Linked DNA regions of Homo sapiens: region 1 is linked to region 2. The links are contacts of gene promoters, found by promoter capture Hi-C in human tissues and cell types (Jung and others, 2019). All regions are on one chromosome and are shown on one strand. The core of a region is centred on a gene start or on the middle of the fragment in contact, and the rest is flanking DNA. Distances in the headings are between cores, read along the strand shown. Region 1 holds the start of EDC3 (enhancer of mRNA decapping 3). Region 2 overlaps CYP11A1 (cytochrome P450 family 11 subfamily A member 1).

The links. Contacts are between HindIII fragments. The study calls those that stand out against the background at their distance.
Region 1: the fragment with the promoter of EDC3 here is called in contact with a fragment that was not itself captured in region 2 in 2 of the 25 tissues and cell types used here (dorsolateral prefrontal cortex and hippocampus).

What each region holds. Positions count from the first base shown.
Region 1 is chr15:74,691,859-74,697,301 of GRCh38, forward strand. EDC3 (enhancer of mRNA decapping 3) reads right to left here and starts at 4,166. Exons shown (of 7, transcript NM_025083.5): 1 at 4,022-4,166. RefSeq lists an enhancer at 4,126-4,215. The HindIII fragment of the contact is 33,216 bases long and covers 1-5,443 here.
Region 2 is chr15:74,358,659-74,364,058 of GRCh38, forward strand. All of the region lies in intron 1 of CYP11A1 (cytochrome P450 family 11 subfamily A member 1), which reads right to left. It also overlaps the pseudogene PPIAP46. Among named protein-coding and RNA genes, the nearest start is that of CYP11A1, 6.3 kb to the right of the region's middle. The HindIII fragment of the contact is 5,215 bases long and covers 1-4,636 here.

The sequences.
Region 1 (5,443 bases), core at 2,916-5,415, 340 kb after region 2:
CAGGCTGGAGTGCAGTGGAGCGATCTCGGCTCACTGCAACCTCCACCTCCCGGGTTCAAGCGATTCTCCTGCCTCAGCCTCCCAAGTAGCTGGGACTACAGGCGCCCACCAACACGCCCGGCTAATTTTTTTTGTATTTTTTAGTAGAGGCGGGGTTTCACTGTGTTAGCCAGGATGGTCTCGATCTCCTGACCTCGTGATCCGCCTGCCTCAGTCTCCCAAAGTGATGGGATTACAGGCGTGAGCCACCGCACCCGGCCACATATTGTCTATGGCTGTTTTCTCACTACAGTGAGAATTAAGCAGTAATCACAGAAACCATGTGGCCCATAAAGCCTTTCATCTGGCCTTTGACAGAAAGTTGACTTTTGCTTTAGGATAAAATTCTGTGGGAAAAGTGGAATGGATACAAGTTCAAAAAGAAAAAGGAAAAATATGTAATGGACAAACTCCCAAAATGATAAAAATGACCAAAACTAACTCAACTAACTATATTAAGAAATTGAATTAGTAAAATCTTCCCAGAGAGAAAAACCCAGGCCCATAGGACTTCACTGGTAAATTCTATGAAACACGTAAGAAATAATACCAATCCTACACAAACTATTTCAGAAAACAGAGGAGGAAGGAACACTTCCCAATTCATTTTATGAGGTCATAATTACCCTGCTACTAAGGCCAAAGATGACATAAAAAAAAGGAAACCTCAGACCAATATCCATCATGAACACAGTCACAAAAATTAACAAAATGTTAGCAAATTGAATCCATCTATATGTAAAAAGTAGTAGATACATTACTAAGCAGGGTTCATTTCACAAATGCAAGATGGGTTTAACATCTGAAAATCAAGTAATGTAATAAGCTATGTTATGTATTTCTTACAGTCTTTGTTTCAAAAGTTTAGTTGTATGTTTTTACAACATCAAATTGATATTGTATTTAGGTAATTTTATATTTATTTTTAAGAAGTCAATATTTACTTGTCAGAAATTACATCCTAAACTATTTAAAATTAAATACTTACACTATGTAAATCTAGGATGAAAAGTTTCAGGTGCCAACTTAAAAGTATATAAGATCTAACAGATTCCACAGTCTTTTAGACATTCTCAAGAAGAAATGTTTTAAGACTAGTGACCCAGCCTATACCTGAAAGCCTGAAATGACAAGGAGAAAAATAATCATTCATGCCAAAGCAACACCACCATATCTTCAAACTTTTGACTTCTGCCCATAAATTTACTCTTAGCACATCTAGATCTAAACCTAATATTCCAGGTACAAGCCTACCAGTGATGCAACCTTTCTCATTCTAGATTTTGCATTTTCCTGATACAATATACTAATGCAGGTCACATCGGTTCTTCTCACAGCCTTCTTAACCACACCACTGATTGGTGATTAAAACATCACATCTTTTTATTATAGAACTCCTGTGAGGTCACATCTCCACCCTCCCCTAATAGGTATAGTTGATTTTGTTTGGACCCAAGCGCAATTTCTCACATTTATACATGCTTCCTTCATTTCATTAAACAGCACTGAGCAAATTATATTGAGATCTTTTCCCATTCTGGCAATCACCAACCAAATGACTCTTTCTTTACTTCACAAAGGCACCAAATCCAATAAGCAAACCTTCTAGATAAGGTCTCAAATACATGAAGTATATAAAGAAAGTGATGAAACCCCAGTTTAGATCACCGGAATTCCAGCTGTAAGTAGTGTCCACAAATCAAACCTCTCCATACATAGATTTTCAAACTCATGACTCCATCTAACTACCACAATCTGGCAAATTCCTCCATCTCGCCCACTCAGTTATAGTAAGACTCAGTAAGACCAGGCGCGGTGGCTCACACCTGTAATCCCAGCACTTTGGGAGGCTGAGGTGAGTGGATCACCTGAGGTCGGGAGTTCGAGACCAGCCCGGCCAACATGGTGAAACCCCATCTCTACTGAAAATACAAAAATTAGCCAGGCGTGGTGGTGCATGCTTGTAGTCCCAGGTACTTGGGAGGCTGAGGCAGGAGAATCGCTTGAACCAGGAGGCAGAGGTTACAGTGAGCAGAAATTGCACCACTGCACTCCGTCCAACCTGGGCAATGGAGTGAGACTCCATCTCAAAAAAAAAAACAAAAACTTCATAAATGCCTTGCTAAAATTCTGACACACTATCATTATGGTCACTACACTCCTTTGAGCCACAATTTGGATGTCCTGTCCTGTTGTTCTGGCTGAATTTAGGAGAACTCTAGTAAGCCCTTCTCTGGATAAGAAAAGAAAAATGATACATCTTCCATTTTGTATTAATTACAGAATCTCACAAATGGCAAGGATTTTAAACATTTTCTAATGTTGTTTTTCTTAGACAGAGTCTTGCTATGTTGCCCAGGCTGGCCTTAAGCAATCCTCCCACCACTGCACTCGGCCCTAGTCTAATATTTTTCTTTTCTTTTCTTTTTTTGAGAAGTTTAGTTCTTGTTGCCCAGGCTGGAGTGCAGTAGCATATCTTGGCTCACTGCAACCTCTCCCTCCCAGGTTCAAGCGTTTCTCCTGCCTCAGCCTCCCAAATAGCTGGGATTATAGGCACCCACCACCACCCAGCTAAGTTTTGTATTTTTAGTACATACGGGGTTTCACCACGTTGCCCAGACTGGTCTCCAACTCCTGACCTCAGGTGATCCACCCGCCTCAGCATCCCAAAGTGCTGGGATTACTGGCGTGAGCCACAGTGCCCGGCCTTAATATTTTTCAAACTATACGTCATGACCTATTAGGGGTCAGACTCAATTTAGTGAGTTGCAACCAATATTTTTTTAGAGTGCATCTTCTGTAGAAAGGGTAAGTAAACTTTTCATTGGTGTGTGTGTGTGTGTACACACTGAGTGTGCAGGGGCACAATAAGTCATGATGTATAATATATCTAACTGTGGGTCACAGGTAAAAAATTTTGAGACACTTTTCTAGCCCCACAGCCCTATGCCAAGGAGGCTCTACCAAGAAATTGGTAATAAACAAAATGTCATGTTTTTACATCATACAGAGAAACTAGCTAAGAGGATTTTGTGCTCAGTACACGTAATCTGCCATTCATTAAAAAAAAAAAAAAAGATTAGGATCCATCTGGGTGTCCAGTTGAAATACTAAACTGCTTGGAGACAGCCATTTCTGTTTTGGTGGGGTGAAGACCTGTATTTGAGACAGCAGACTGAAATCGGTTTGGTCTGTGGCGAAGGAAGAGAAGAAAAACCATTCTGGGTCGCGAGTTCCTCACCTGTAACCACAGGAGAAGACTGTTGGCTTGGTCAGTTGATTTTCAACTAATCTCCCAATTGAAGAGTTAGGCGAAGCAATTGCTATTGGGAGATTAACTGAAAATTAACTGACCAAGCCAACAAGGACTATGCCTCCCACAAACCAAAACACTTTAACCACTCAGCAAGTCAAGTATTGATACATACAATCAATATCACACAAAGTGTACTGAAAAGAACCACAGACTTGCATCAAAGGCAGAAATGAATCCAGGGATAACTTCCTGGGATTCGAAGATGTGACCTGGTAGGTATAAATTTCTCAGGCATCCTCTTTTTCTACCCTCCAGTTCATCTCCGTCCTCAAGCTATCAGTCATGGATGTGGCACTGGCGTTCTTCTCTGCCACCGTATCTCATTATGCAAAGGGAAACTGAGGCACGAAGAACAGAGTGAGTGAGCCAAAGAACTGCAGCAGCCACCAACAAGGCTGGACTAAGGGCCCAAGCAGCTAATGCCTCACTCCCCACACAATCCCCATACTATTTAGAATCCTGCAGTCCTCAGCCTTCCACCTCAAACCAAACTCCTGGGGCCGCCCGTAGTACGTGGTCCCCTGCTCATCCGATGAAGCCCCCAGCTCTTGCCTGCCTGCCTGCCTCTATAAAGGTCTACGAGGCCTGGAACTCTGAAGCCTAAAGCAACCCCGGCAGCCCCCTCCCACGACCGTCCACAAACCAGTAGCCTCCCTTCGCTCCCACCTCCGCGCCGACGGGCCTGGAGCTCCTCCGCACACCACACCAAGCCGACCACTCAACACCAGAGGACCCACAGAAGAATTCTCTCCACGCCCACCCCCACAGCATCGGCCTTCACCACCGCCGCCGCTGCCGGAAGCGCCCCCACGTCTCCACGCCACCACCGTGAGGTCACTTCCGGCGCGACACCTTGGAATCCAGGGCCGTCAATTGAGGGGCGTGGCACCCGGGAAATTTAAGAGGTTGGAAGAACGTCCCTTCGGCCTTACAGAATTGCGCTTGGGTAGTCATTTTGCCCTCCACGCTTACTTATGTCCTGTGGCGTCTTGGCTGGAATCGGGGCTCTACCCACGACTCCCCAGCCTCGATGCCTGGGCCCCCCTCTTGCAGGCTCGATGAAAAGCACCCGCTTCCCCTCCTGTTACCCCAGCGCCAATCGCAGAGCTGGAGCGGAGGACTTTCAGGGAGGCCTGGTGACGTGACAGCCCCTCCGTGCTAAACTGCAGCTGTGGGACTTAATAAGTGCGACAACCCCCTGATGGATTAAAGAAAACAAGATATTCCTGCCGTGGTCGATCTTCAAAGCGTATCAGCTTCAGCCCTTTTGGGGGTTAAAATCAGCCAGTCCGTGCTTGACTGCTCTCCCTTCCCCCATACTCAGTACACAGGAAAGTGCCGCTCTTCTACCCCTGGCATTTTAGAGTCTTGATTTGTGGGGAGACGGGAAAGCATGCGTTTAGGGCCAAGACCGTGTAATGAGGAATATTGCACAGCCTTGAAGCCTGACACCTGGTTTGGGAACCACTACTTGGGCGAATAGCATAGAGTAGGGTAGCAGTTCCAAACCTAGCTCTACAAAATCAGTTGAAGAACTTTGTAAAATCTACACTTTCTAGGGGACTGCTTCACCCTTCCCCCTCCATCACCAGAGATTCCCTAGGTCAGAAGGGGTCCTTGTCTTTTAAAATTACTGTTATTAATGAACACTTATAGAGCAGTTTTTGGTTCAGGGCAAAACTGAACAGAAAGTACAGAGTTCCCATATATCCCCTGTACACACAGGCACATACACAACTTGTCCCCTCATGGACATCTTGTGCTACAGTGGTACATTTGGTAACAATTGATTACCCAACTTTGACACATCATTATCACCCAGAGTCCATAGTTTACATTAGAGTTTACTCTCGGTGTTGCACATTCTGTGGGTTTTGACATATATGTAATGACATGTATCCACCATTATGGTATCATACACGATAGTTTCACTGCCCTGAAAATCCTCTGTCCTCTGCCTATTTATCCTTCTCAGTCCCCTAACCACTGGCAACCACTGCTCCTTTTACTGTCTCCATAGTTTTGCCTTTTCCAGAATCCCATATAGTTGGAATCATACAGTATGCAGCCTTTTCACATCGGATTCTT
Region 2 (5,400 bases), core at 779-3,278:
GACACGTTCACCGGTTGGGTAGAGACCTTTCCCGTAGGGTCTGAAAAGGCCACCACGATCATTTCTTCCCTTCTGTCAGACATAATTCCTCGGTTTGGCCTTCCTACCTCTATACAGTCTGATAACAGACCAGCCTTTATTAGTCAAATCACTCAAGCAGTTTCTCAGGCTCTTGGTATTCAGTGAAACCTTCATACCCCTTACCGTCTTCAATCTTCAGGAAAGGTAAAACGGACTAATGGTCTTTTAAAAACACACCTCACCAAACTCAGCCTCCAACTTAAAAAAAGGACTCTGTCAAGAATAGAGCCCAAAAACTCACCAACCAAACAAGTAATTACACTGAATCCCCTTGGGCACTCTCTAATCGGATGTCCTGGGTCCTCCCAATTCTTAGTCCTTTAATACCTGTTTTTCTCCTTCTCTTATTCAGACCTTGTGTCTTCCATTTAGTTTTTCAGTTCATACAAAATTGCATCCAGGCCATCACCAATCATTCTACATGACAAATGCTCCTTTTAACAACCCCACAATATCACCCCTTACCACAAAATCTTCCTTTGGCTTAATCTCTCCCACTCTAGGTTCCCACACTGCCCTTAATCCTGCTTGAAGCAGCCCTGAGAAACATTGCCCATTATCTCTCCATACCACCCCCAAAATTTTTGCTGCCCCAACACTTCAACACTATTTTATGTTATTTTTCTTACTAATATAAGAAGACAGGAATATCAGGCCTCTGAGCCCAAGCTAAGCCATCATGTCCCCTGTGACCTGCACGTATGCACCCAGATGGCCTGAAGTAACTGAAGGATCACAAAAGAAGTGAAAACGGCCTGTTCCTGCCTTAACTGATGACATTACCTTGTGAAATTCCTTCTCCTGGCTCATCCTGGCTCAAAAGCTCCCCCACTGAGCACCTTGTGTCCCCTGCCCGTGCCTGCCAAAGAACAACCCCTTTGACTGTAATTTTCCATGACCTACCCAAATCCTATAAAACGGCCCCACCCCTATCTCCCTTCGCTGACTCTCTTTACGGACTTAGCCCACCTGCACCCAGGTGATTAAAAAGCTTTATTGCTCACACAAAGCCTGTTCAGTGGTCTCTTCACAGGGACACGCGTGAAAGAGAGAACCCTGAAATCTGGCATGCCGGTGAAAGGATAAGAATTTCTTATGAGTCAGTCTCTGGGCTCTTTCCCTCTATGCAAACTGGTTAAATATAAAGTAGAAGTCACGTATATCTCCTCTGTAAGATTTTAAATTAATTGGTTTAATAATAATAAAAGCTTAAGTCAAATATTTTGTCAGAAAAGTAGAAAGTGTAATGCCTTTTAGTTCATGTGACTTTAGCAATAGTTGGGAAATAAAGACAGTTTTCAAGATTATTGGAAAAATACAGTTGTCTTCAAAATGTAAACATGTGGTGTACATTATGTTCAAATACTAGGTTTGCTAAATCCTTTAACATCATAAGCTACTCCTTTGGCTTTTGAAAATTGTTTAACTTGCCTGCTTTCCAGCTAGGTAAGGCCTGGGGACACGTGGAGTTAGCCATGCCCCTAGCTGTGCTGGAAGTAGTCAAACCTTATCAGAAACTTTATCAGAACTTACCAGTTTTTTTTGTTTTTGTTTTTGTTTTGACAGAGTCTCACTCTGTCCCCCAGGCTGGAGTGCAGTGGCGCAATCTCGGCTCACCCACAATCTCCATCTCCCAGATTCAAGCAATTCTCTGCCCTAGCCTCCTGAGTAGCTGGAATTACAGACGCCCGCCACCACACCTGGCTAATTTTTTATTATTATTTTTAGTAGAGATGGGGTTTTACCATCTTGGCTAGGCTGGTCTTGAACTCCTGACCTCATGATCCACCCGCCTCGGCCTCCCAAAGTGCTGGGATTACAGGAGTGAGCCACCGCGCCTGGCCTAACTTACCAGGTTTTATGTTAAAATTCGCCATTATAGGCCAGTCACAGTGCCTCGCACCTGTAATCCCAGCATTTGGGGAGGCCGAGGCAGGTGGATCACCTAAGGTCAGGAGTTCAAGACCAGCCTGACCAACATGGTGAAACCCCCATCTCTAGTAAAAATACAAAATTAGCTGGGCAAGGTGGTGCCTGCCTGTAATCCCAGCTACTGGGGAGGCTGAGGCAGGAGAATCATTTGAACTCAGGAGGCAGAGGTTGAAGTGAGCCGAGATCATGCCATTGCACTCCAGCCTGGGCAACAAGAGTGAAACTCTGTCTCAAAAAAAACAAATTTGCCATTATAACATGCAATTAAGACTACTAGAAACAGTTTTACATGCAAGGTGTATAAGAACAGTAGAAAGTGTTGGGGGTTTTTTTGTGTGTGTGGAAGGTTACAAAAGGTTTTTGCTTCTTTAAAATTTCTGAGTCATCATTTTGGCAAAATAAATAGTTTACGGTAATCTGGAATTCCAAAATCAAACTTCAGTTTCAAAATTGTCTTTCCTAATGCCTGGCTTTCTAGATGAATCAGAGGGCCCCTGAAAACATCCAGAAAAGAGGTAAACAGGATTATTTGACATGTTTAGGTACATGGGATTGACAAAATGATGTTAAATCTTCTTTAGGTTATATTTTTGTGAATAATATATTCCAAAATTGTATGGGATTTCTCAAATTCTAATGTCTAAGTATATGTTACCAATCACAATTATAATTATGTTAAGTTATTGTAAACCACAAAAATGACCAAATTTTCTTGTATAAAGCTACTAACCCACGTAAAACAACAACAACAAAAAATTAATTACATATCAAGAAAAGACTTTCATGTTAAACCAGCTAATACTGAAATTGTTTAAAATAGTTTATAACCTGTCGCTTTGCAGATGCCGTCACTGCCACCAGGAGCCCTGTACTATCAGCCATGGTCAACCCCACCGTGTTCTTTGACATCGCAGTCACGGCGAGCCCTTGGGTCACGTCTCCTTTGAGCTGTTTGCAGACAAGATTCCAAAAACAGCAGAAAACTTTCATGCTCTGAGCACTGGAGAGGAAGGATTTGGTTATAAGGGTTCCTGCTTTCACATAATTATTCCAGGATTTATGTGTCAGGGTGGTGACTTCATATGCCATAATGGCACTGGTGGCAAGTCCATCTATGGGGAGAAATTTGATGATGAGAACTTCATCCTAAGGCATACACGTCCTGGCATCTTGTCCATGGCAAATGCTGGATCCAATACAAACGGTTCCCAGTTTTTCATCTGCACTGACAAGACTGAGTGGTGGATGGCAAGCATGTGGTCTTTGGCAAGGTGAAAGAAGGCATGAATATTGTGGAGGCCACGGAGCGCTTTGGGTCCAGGAATGGCAAGACCAGGAAGAAGATCACCATTGCTGACTGTGGACAACTCTAATAAGTTTGACTTGTGTTTTATCTTAACCACCAGACCATTCCTTCTGTAGCTCAGGACAGCACCCTCCACCCCATTTGCTCGCAGTATCCTAGAATCTTTGTGCTCTCGCTGCAGTTCCCTTCCATGCCTAGCTGGACTGCAGAGTTGAGTTAAAGTTTATGATTATGAAATAAAAACTAAATAACAACAAAAAATTGTTTATAACCAATGCTTGATCCCATATTCCTAGGAAAACAATTAAAGCTTCAGGTATATTTGGTCTTCTGGTCAGCCATTTAAACATTTTATAAAGGGATTTCATTCCATTGTTATTTTCCATGCATGTTTTCTGGTTGTAGAAAAGCTTTCCCATGCAAGAGGGCTGATGTTATAACAGTAGATTATTATGCTACAGTGTATTTTCACCAGATTAAAAAAAAAAGCTTTTTATGGTTTGAATCTGCTGGAAACATCAGAGAAAGACTGTCCTTGCCATCTACACTATAACAAAACTTCAGGACCTTGAACTTTGGGTTCATAATCTCACAACTGAGAAGGGCCCCTCCATGCTCTTGGAGCTGTGCACCCACTGGAATGCTTAAGGTAAAACTAACTAGGGAAATTTCTCCCAAGAAGAAGATGACATCATTGATGTGAACAGCTTTTCCCAAGTTCACAGATTAAGACTTCTACTATCATGAAACTCTTATTTTTGAATATTTTTTCTTGCTTATGCCTTCTACGAACAATAGAAGTGGAAAAGGGGTCTGTTATGTGCACTTATGGGGAACATTTTTATTTGTGAAGGAGTTTGCAGCCAGCCTTATACATGGATAAAGGCCCAATGTATGTAAGAAACTTTAATGGTAGATGTGTTAGCTCATAATCAATCAAAAACAAAAAATTGATTCACTCCACATAACCCACATCGTGGGTTAAAGAGAACATTGCCAGAAGTCCTTCACTCTTCTGAAAGGGCATCATTTGTTAGGTCCTTTTTCCATGGTTTAAAGTAAAAGAAGCAATGATTAGAAATGTATCCCTCATGATAGGTTCCATAGCAAATTCTACTCTAAAGGCTACAGACTCTAAATTCTCTTGTGAAAGTTATAATAGAATTGGCTAAACAGCGAAGTATCTGTGCAGCTGCTGGCACTTGTGGCCTATACAGAAATACATCAAATGAAGACTATAGAAATTCAGTGGTAGGAGACTGACAAAGAAATTGATTAGTCAAGTCTCTCTCTGTTGCCCAGGCTGAAGTGCAGTGGCGTGATCTTGGCTCACTGCAACCTCCGACTCCCAGGTTCAAGCAATCCTCCTGCCTTGGCCTCCCAAGTAGCTGGGATTACAGGTGCACGTGACCACACCCAGCCAATTTTTGTATTTTAGTAGAGATGGGGTTTCACCACGTTGGCCAGGCTCATCTTGAACTCCTGACCTCAAGTGAGCCACCTCACCCAGCCGTGAGTAAACTGTATCTAGCTCATTCTTAGATCCATTTGATTTTAGGAGGTTTGGTTTATGGGGACCTTGGGTAAGGAGTATACTCCCAAATTCTTGGTATTATCCTCCTAATAGCCATAATAATGGTCTCCCTGACGAGCTGTATGCTCTCAAAGGTTTTAAATGCTTGCATGAGCCATCTCTAGAATGTCATATGGTCTCTCTTCAACTGGAATAACAGGAGCTCAAAGAAATATGCAACCATGAGGACACCATAACCTATAAATGACATGCTGAGACCAGAAACCCAAAATGATGGTAACTGAGAGTGGCACTGAGGCCCTAGGTTTTGGTCACACTCTCACCTAAGTGAAAACCTGATCAAAAAGGGAATTTTTTTCAACAAAATTCTGGGAGGCCGTTGTTTTGGACTGATCTCATGCACTAGGCCCCAACAAACCAAACAAAACCAAAATGGGGCCACTCATGCCAAGACTTTAAGGAAACACATAGATTCTAGAAAAGACTAGGTTTTGTTTTTTCTTCTGCAAATCACTACAACAAACATTTCTGACAGTATAGGTATCCA